2 separate regions of the Homo sapiens genome follow, and region 2 is linked to region 1. Evidence: promoter capture Hi-C in 16 types of primary human blood cells and fetal thymus (Javierre and others, 2016). All regions are on one chromosome and are shown on one strand. Each heading gives the region's core, a stretch centred on a gene start or on the middle of the fragment in contact. The rest is flanking DNA. Distances are from core to core; before and after follow the strand shown.

Region 1 (4,522 bases), core at 1,359-3,858:
TTTCTAGAGACTCCTTATAGAAACATTTGTGAGGATTAAAAACAATAACAGAGTCAACTTCAGAAACAAGTTACTGGATTTTATTATACCCCAAAACAAGGAAGAGAGTGGGTGCATTACTAAGGCAGTGACTCAGTGTTCAGGACTGTTGTTGTCACCCAGAGAGATTCACAAAACCTCCAACCTGTCCAGCAATACATTTAGAAGAAACAGGATTAGGGAAGACTCTGGAAGCAAAGAAGGCTTTATTAAACATAACCATGATCCATAGCTGGAGTATACATAGGAAATTTGGTAACTTGGATAAGGCAAAGTCTTTTCCCTTTAGGAGCCTGTACTTTAGTGGGTGAGGAAGAACCTTCTGAAAGAAAATGATTTCAGCAGCAGTATAAAAGAAAGTGGGTCACCTGTATGAGCAAACTAACAAAGCAGATTTAATGTAAGTGCCCAAGAGTTCCAAAACAAGGGAATCAGTAAGAGTTCTGGAGAAGGCCACCTTGGGGATACTTGGTGCGGTGTGGGGGTGGATGTAGGTTTATTCTGGGAATCGAATAACATGGTAAATATGTGACTGTAGGATGACTGGCTGTGATTTGCAAGGAAAAGAAATTTGCAAAGACCCAAGAATGGTATCTGCTAAATTGCATGTGCAAGGGTGGTCATGGTGAAAAGGAAAGTTTGGGCTAGAATAAGAGTAATAAAATGAGAAGTCAGGGAAGTACCAAGCATTTGAATGCTATAAAAATGCTATAGCAGTTGAATTCTATACAAATTTAAATTATGGAAATTTGAAATGTTATTAAGTATTTAAAAAGTCTCACTTTATATGTAAAGTTTGAAATGAAGCCAATTCTTGAAAGCTGCGGAGAGAGAAGGAGGCAAAGCGAGCATAATTTCAGCCTGTATGAATTAATTATAAATTCTATCATGCTATTTCCACATGGTGGCACCACTTTGGTGAGCACGTAAAGTACCCACTTTTCTTTATCAAGATGAGATTTGAATGGGTCCAGTTTTGAGTTGTGAGAAGTCTTTATTCCCTCAGGTAAAAGGCAATCCCTTGTGCCTGATGACGCTAATGACAGCATAACTGCTAGACTCTGTTCTCCTCCCTTCACAGCTCTTCCTTTTGTTGCATTCTCTTCCCCCAGTGGCTTTTCTTGCACACTAAGAAGAAGTGTTCTCCTCGTCCTTTTCCCTCCCTCCCGCAAATCCCATCAGCGTCTCTTTCTCAATCCCTCTCCCCTTATCTTCTCAGTAATTAGAGGCTCAGGGACAGAAAATGCACCAGCACGGGCATGGTGGCAGGCTCCTGTAATTGCAGCTACTCGGGAGGCTGAGGCAGGAGAATCGCTTGAACTCGGGAGGCGGAGGTTGCACTGAGCTGAGATTGTGCCATTGCACTCCAGGCTGGGCAACAGAGCGAGACTCTGTCTCAAAAAAAAAAAAAAAGAAAAGAGAAGAAAAGAAAATGAACCAGCAGACGGGACCAACTGCTAGCCTTCAAGGCCATTACCTTTACCAAGGAGGGTACCATGCTCGTGGCTGAGGAGCCAACAGGAGGAAGATGAGGTGGACGATGTGCCAGCCACTGTAGGCCCTGTCTCAGGGGGAGCTCTTTGGAAGGAGGAGAGCCTGGTCCTCTTTCTCTGACTGCTCCACTTCCTGTAGCAACTTGTAGAGGGGTCCTGGAGTGCTTGCATAATATGGAGCTTCTTTGGGCCCAGTCAGCTTCAAGCTGGGTCTGAAACAATGATACCAAAAGGAAGAGAAGCCATAGATTCCCAACAGGAATGAGGCATTGATCATCACATGCCAGCAGAAGAAGGTGGTGACAAACATGATGTCACTGATGTCATCGTCCTGCCATGGGTAGCCAGAGACGGGTCTGTATAGAATAAAGCCTGCCTGCATCAGCCAGGAGCCCATCATCAGAATCAGAAAGGTCTCCATCAGCTGGAGATGACACATGTTGGGAGCCCACAGCTCTGCAGTCAACACCAGCAACAGCAGGAACACCACCAAGATGAGCAGAGAATAAACGTGCAGCTCCACCCCTTCTGAATCTTTAACATGTGACACCATCAGCAGCAGGAGCTCGTAGATGATCAGGACCAGGGTACCTTTTTCTAGGCCCACACACCTCTGAGGCAGCACATTCTTGCTCATGAAGTCCACACAGCCATTAAGAGTGAGGAGGATGAACATGGTGAGGTGCTGCCACTCTTTGGGGTACATGAACCTTGATGGCACTTGCTTCCTCATGAGCACCATCCCGCCATCAAGACAGAGAACCACATAAAATGTTAAGAGGGAGCCAGTCACTATCTTTAGTAATCCTCCATAGGCTATTTTCCACAGCCTGGCACATCTTTGCTTATTCCTGGGAGAGCACAAAGGATACAGGAGACAACCTTTGAGTATCATGCCCTTGGAGACCACTGTGGCCTGATATAGTCCATAAGAGAAAAGAAATAGCCCCAGTTAAAAATGGCCAATGGACTTTCCCATGGAATACAGGCCTGTCCGACTGAAGCGTGAAGAGCAATACTCAGGACCTCTCTGCTCTCCTCTCCCTCACAGGCCTCTCGAGTTCTGGGCCTATATATACAGAGCTAAGTTCTACCTACTTTTATCATCTCCTTCTGCCCACTGCTCTCTCACAGACTGGAAAGTTCTGGACAGGAGCCTAGGTTTTTAGTGAGGTGGGTCTCATTGTTCCATTTCATTCCAGTACACTGGGAACTAATTGAGTTCTGCCAAAGTAGAAACATAAATATTTTTTAGTATGCACCTGTGGGAATTTGTGCTCTCAGGAGCTCTGCTTTTGGACCCTTGAGGACCTTCTGGTTACACTTGTCCCTCTCTCTCATGGCTTGCTTCCTTCTGCCCCTGTTCAATGCTCGGAGTAGAAAAAGAGAGGTGCCTGAGCACGGAGATTATCCAGAGAAGACCCGGGTTACTCACAAACCTTAATGCATCCTTTAAGACTCCTTACTCGGACAGGCATGGTGGCTCAAGCCTGTAATCCCAGCACTTTGGGAGGCCAAGGCAGATCTCGAGGTCAGGAGTTCGAGATCAGCCTGGCCAACATGGTGAAATCCCATCTCCACTAAAAATACAAAAACTAGCTGGGCATGGTAAAGAGTGCCTGTAATCCCAGCCACTTGGAAGGCTGAGGCAGGAGAATTACTTGAACCCGGGAGGCGGATGTTGCAGTGGGCCAGGATCATCTCACTACACTCCAGCCTGGGTGACAGAGCGAGACTGTCTCAAAAAAAAAAAAGACTCCTTACTCATATGTTGGGTCATATACTGAGAGCAAATACATTCTTCCTAGACATAAAAGTTTATAAACGTTTGGATGTGTGCTCATATATATAGATACTGAGCTCTTGTCCTCTTCATTCTTCTGTAACAGTTTTTGGGGATCACAAAGAAAGCAGCTCAATTGCCCCAAATTATCTTTCCAAAGAACAGTAGATGAATGTAAAATGTCACCTTTTGAGATCAATTTTGGAATGTTAAGGTATAATTTTTTATTAAAATGCAGATATGTTGAGATAAGTAGATCCAACAAACTGCTTATATTTTAATGTGAATTAGGTCCTCAACTTTATTCTCTCTTTAATTATCATTTACTATGTGTCTAACACATATAGGCAGAAAGAGTTCTAAGCACTAGGTAGCAGCCAGCTGCATATGAGGGGTTGCATCCAAGGCAAGAGTCTTCATTTATTTATTTTTATTTCTATTTTTATTTTTATTTTTAGACAGTGTCTCGCTTTGTTGCCCAGGTTGCAGTGCAGTGGCTTGATGACGGCTCACTGCAGCCTCAACCTCCTGAGCTCAATCAATCCTCCTGCCTCAGCTGCTGAGTAGCTGGGACAACAGACATGAGCCACCACATCCAGCTATTTTTTGTAGAGATGAGGTCTCACTACATTGTCCATGCTGGGTCTCAAACTCCTGGGCTCAAGTGATCCACCCACCTCAGCCTCCCAAAGTACTGGGATTACAGGCGTGAGCCACCGTACCTGGCCCCATTTATTTATTTATTCATTATTTTTTATTTTTTAAAATGAAAGCACATTTATTAAGAAAAAAAGGAATAAAAGAATGGCTACTCTATAGGCAAAGCAGCCCCCATTTATTTTTTTTATAAAAATTAATGTCTATATAGCCCCTCCTTATCCATGGGTGATACTTTCTAAGACTCCCAGTGGATGCCTGAAACCTGGGATAGGTTAGTACTGAACCCTACATATACTGGTTTCCCCATACATGTATACATACCTATAATAAAGTTTAGTTTACAAATTAGGCACAGCAAGAGATTAGCAATAATAACTCAAAATAAAATAGAACAATTATAAAATGATGCTGAAATAAAAGTGTGAATATAATTTCTCTCTCTCTCTCTCAAAATACTATAATATTTTCAGACTGCAGTTAACTGTGAGTAACTGAAACCTAAGAACATGAAACTGCAGGTAAGGGAGGACTACTGTATTTAAAGTGT
Region 2 (4,837 bases), core at 231-2,730, 98 kb before region 1:
TTTTGGAAAATTGACCCCATTTTGATAAGAATGTCTGTGTTTTTGAAAAACATAACCCATCACATATGATCTCCATGGCAATGATATTTTGCTATAGGAGGCAGTAGTAGGATGTGGTGGTAAGAACATGCACCTCAGAACCAGACACCTGGGTAAAAGTCTGACACTGACAGTTACAAGCTGGGTGAGCAGTCTGATCACTTGCCAAGTTGGGTGACACTAGTTCCTCGCTCACACAGTTGTTGTAAGAAATGAATGACAGGTTCAGAGAACACGCAGTAGAATAAAAAAGAAAGAAAGAAAGAAAGAAATGAGTGGGCATATGCACCGTGCTGAAACACAGAGACTGGCACGTAGTCAGTACTGCATAAGGTCAGCACCCTCCGTATGACCCCACCCCAAATCCAGCCACTCCGGGTATGTCGTGATGAACTAAGCATTAGAGCATGGGGCCTAACGATGGCATGGCTGCAGGCCAAATCCTGCCTGCTGCCCACTTAGCCCAAGAGTTAACATTTTTCTAAATTTTTTAATCACTGGGGTACGAAAAGTCAAAAACAAGAATAGCATTTCATGCCACATGAAAAACATATGAAATTCAGACTTCAGTGTTCATAAATGAGTTTTCTGAAGCACAACCACACTCATTTGTTTATGTATCTTCTCTAAGACTGCTTTTCCGCTGCAATGACAGAGCTGAGCAGGTACAACACAGATGTATGACCCACAAAGCCTAGAATATCTACTATCCGGCCTTTTACAAAAAAAGTTTCATCAGCCTTGCATTAGAGGATCAGCAGTCCAATTCCAGCCCTGCTTCCCACCTTCCAAATAGAGATAACACCTTCTCTGTCACTGAAAAACCCTCACCAGCATGCACGCGCGCGCACACACACACACACCACACACACCACTTGGCTTATTCACCGTGATGCTGTTAACACCAGCTGGCCTCCACTTTGGAAAGTGTAAGACCAGATTAGGCTATAAAGCATTACTGTTATTTTCTGAGCAAGCACTTGGGGGTGGTGCAATCCCAGTCAACACTACTGAAACAACTCAATGTGCTCTTTGTTCTCCAAGTCCTTGATCTTTCGTTCTTATTACAACTTCTCAGGGCCTGCTGTGTTCATTTGAACTGGTTCAGCTGGAAAAAATATGAGTTGGGTTTTGTTTATACCTTAATCAGCTGACTAGAAAGGGGTTAGAAAGAAGAGAGTGAGGAAGCATTAAAATGCATACATTATTGAGTGTTTGCTATATGCCAGGCACTCTGGAATTACAGTAATGTATTAATAAGGAAAGGTCCCTGAGAGAGGGAGAGACAAACAAAAAGGCAAGTAGTTATAAAATAATCCAATAATTCCTATACAGAGACATAAACAAAGCGCTGAGGGAACAAAAAATAATTTATTCTACTAGGTTTTGAAGAGGAGCATCAAGAAAAGTCACAGGGGGTGACAGCTTTGGCCTAGGAGGCTTTGAAGAGTGGGGAAAGTTGGTTAGGTGAGAAGAGAGGGTTTATCCTTGGTAGAACAGGAAAATAACAGTGGCAAAAGCAAAGAGGGAGGAGGACATGTATGGCATGTTCAATCAGCAGGGAGTGCAGGAGGAGACTCCAGGAGACAAGCTGGGGCTGCACTGCAGAGGAGCCTCTGTACCACCCTCAGGGGATGGCACTTTATCCTGGAGGTGATGGAGAGTCTTTGCAGATTTTTAAAAGGGGAGAGAGAAAATCACATGTGTGCTTTGAAGATGATCATTATGGGAAGCAACGTGGAGGGATGTGCTGACACAAAGAAAACCTGGATTTAAAAAAGGGCTGGGCACGGTGGCTCATGCCTGTAATACCAGCACTTTGGGAGCCAGAATGGGGGGATCACTTGAGGTCAGGAGTTCGAAACCAGCCTAACCAGCATGGTGAACTCCCATCTCTACTAAAAATATGAAATTAGTCAGGTGTGGTGGCACATGCCTGTAATCCCAGCTACTTGGGAGGCTGATGCAAGAGAATCGCTTGAACCCGGGATGCGGAGGTTGCAGTGAGCTGAGATCACACCATTGCACTCCAGCCTGTGCAACAAGAGCAAAACTCTATCTCAAAAAAAAAAAAAAAAAAAAAACAACGAAACAAAACAACAAAAAAGTCATGGGTGATGGATGATAGCAAAGTGTGGTGGGAAGAAAGATCTTGGATGTAGAGTTCATCGAACTTCACAATATATTGAACTCACAGTTGAAAGAGAGGGAAGAGTATGAGGATAAATCCCAGGTTTCTGGAGTGGGTACCTGGACAAATATTGGTGCCATTAATTGAGACAGGAAATGGTGGAGGAGTAGCAGTTTGACTGGGGATGAAAAAGATATTTGGGCTTATAATGTGGTATTCGACTTGTAGCATATGACATGGTTTTAGGTCATCCAGGTTAAGAAATCCAGCAGGCAATTACTGATACTCTAGGTCTAGAGCCCAGAAGATGCAGGAGCTAGAAATAGACATTTAATAACTTTCAGTATATGATGCATGACAGCAGAGGACCCGTGCATCATTCATGCATGGGCTCAGCAAGTGTGGAAAAAATAATCTACAATTAGAATCCTAGGGAATACCAGCATCTAATTGGATGCAAGGCAAGAGAAGCCAACTAAGATGGGAAAAAAGGAGAACCCAGAATGAAAAGTATTGCCAAAGCCTCGAAGAAGGATGTTTCAGAAGTTTCTCTGCCACTGGAGAGGGTCAAGAGAATTAAAAAAAAAAAAACAAACAAACAAAACCCCACAAAGCACAAACTCTCTCAAATAATGGATTCCCATAAAGCCCACTTGGAATTCTGTGAAAGGGTGTCACCTTGGAGAGTTATAAAAATCAATTGGCCTGCTTCCAGAACTCAGTGCCTAGGGTTAATAAACTGGAAAGCAGAGGTGTTTTCCAAGACAGACAATTGGTTTTGATGGGCACCAAAAAGCAGCTGTTGGGTTTGCAAAAAGGAGTCATTGGTGACTTAGCCAGGAAACATTTCAGTAGAGTAATAGGAGCAGAGACAAATTTACATGGTTTCAGAAGTCAGTGGATTTGAAGAAATAGAAACAAGAAGTAAAGCATGCACTTTCAAAAGTGGCATTTCTACAACTGTTTTATGCTTTCCTCGTTTCTTTTTCTCTCTCTCTTAAACACCAATTGTCTGTCCTGGAAAACACTTCTGCTTTCAATTCACTGGGTGCTGTTTTCCGAAAATAGACCAATCCATTCTCATAACTCTCCAAGATCACATTTACCCTTTCACAGAATTCCAAGAGGGTCTTACAGGAACCCATGATTTGCAGGGTTTTTGCTCTTGCCAAAAAAGTGTTTCTAGAGAAAATCAACAAAAAGATTGAAAAGTCCCTGGGGGAGTGAGGGTACACCCCACAGGATGGGTACCTCTGTAAAGGGGTCTGCCATGGGTCTGCGTAGGGAGTCAGTCCTCCTCTCTCTCCAGTGAATGGCACGGTGCCAGTGAAGAAGGAAAAGGGGGCGGCTGCACTCTCAAGCTTCTCTTCTAACACCAAGCTTTCTTTCCTACTTTAGCTTGAGACCAACAAAAAGTGGAGAACTTAGGGTAGTGTGGGACCAGGTCCCTGGTGAGCTGGGTTCTAGTTCCAGCTCTACTTCTTATCCCCAGGTTCTACCAAAGAGAGAGTTTTCCTACTCTAGTTTGATTTCTTAAAATACAAATATGATTAATACATTTGCTTAAAACCTTCAGTGTGGTTTCACCTTGCCCTAGAATTAAGTTCAGTATCCTTAGTAGGAACAAACAGCACCTTCCACATCTAATAGCTGCTAGATCTCTCCTCCAATTCTCTTGTCCAAACAAGTGGAATTTTTTTCTTCCAAAGCAACATGCTGTTCTCTCTCCTTGTGGCTTTGAAATGTACTAATCCTCTCCCTAGAGGCCTCAGTTTTCACACTTTATCTGGCAACCTTGAACTCCTCTCAGTTTTGATGCCAGCTTCTTCAGGGAACTCTTTTCAATTCCCTAGGCTTGGTTAGACCCCTAGATCAGATTATATGTTTATTTCCTAGCACTCAAATGCCTTGTGTCAGTTGTTTAAGGTCAGTCTCTCCTACTAGAATATTAAGCATCCATCAGGGCAGGGAGCTGGTCTGCCTTTTTACTACTACGACCCTAGCACCAAGCATCAAAAAATGAATAACATGTTCTTTTGTTCATTCATTCATTCAATATGTTGTAAGTAGCTGATCATACAATATATGAAAAATCTCTTCCAAAAATATAAGATCCAAATACTTGGAACATTTTCTGAAGAAAAATGCAGTCAATATAAATCTAGTCAACAGTCCTGAAGCCAAAACTCAAAATGTGCATTTATAATAAAGGATGATACTATTATGATTACTATACATGACTTCAAACTGGTTTTTATATCTCATTACTTTTATAATCAAATTATTACATTAATATATGTCACTAATAATATATATTTGATCTCAGACAGGTCATTATATCTTAGTACCAGAAGGGATCTTAGAGAGCTCCTAACTCCTTGTATTTTTGGGGACTATATCAAATTTAAATATTCTAGATCCCATAAATCATTGACATTTCACAGAAATTCTAATATTCCTACAAACAATATCTGAAAGAGTTAAGTTAGCAAACATCACAATGACTTAGTAAGCTGAGTTCATCAAACACGCAAATATGAGTAAAACAATACTCTACCAACTTCTACTGTAAACAAATGGTGAGAATTACAATTCAAATATTTTATTAACTAACATTTTTTCCCTGAACTTTTTCATTGAATTGCCCAAATCTTTGAATGATACTTC

The links. Contacts are between HindIII fragments. The CHiCAGO score rates a contact against its expected background, and 5 or more counts as called.
Region 2: a contact is called between a fragment that was not itself captured here and the fragment with the promoter of TEDDM1 in region 1, in 1 of 17 cell types (megakaryocytes). The highest score is 6.3, in megakaryocytes.

What each region holds. Positions count from the first base shown.
Region 1 is chr1:182,398,059-182,402,580 of GRCh38, forward strand. TEDDM1 (transmembrane epididymal protein 1) reads right to left here and starts at 2,609. Exons shown (of 1, transcript NM_172000.4): 1 at 59-2,609. The coding sequence starts at 2,427. The coding sequence ends at 1,606. The HindIII fragment of the contact is 8,350 bases long and covers 1-4,522 here.
Region 2 is chr1:182,300,924-182,305,760 of GRCh38, forward strand. The region is part of intron 2 of LINC01344 (long intergenic non-protein coding RNA 1344); the gene reads right to left. Among named protein-coding and RNA genes, the nearest start is that of LINC01344, 11 kb to the right of the region's middle. RefSeq lists an enhancer at 786-1,303 and a silencer at 3,061-3,110. The HindIII fragment of the contact is 4,098 bases long and covers 1-3,529 here.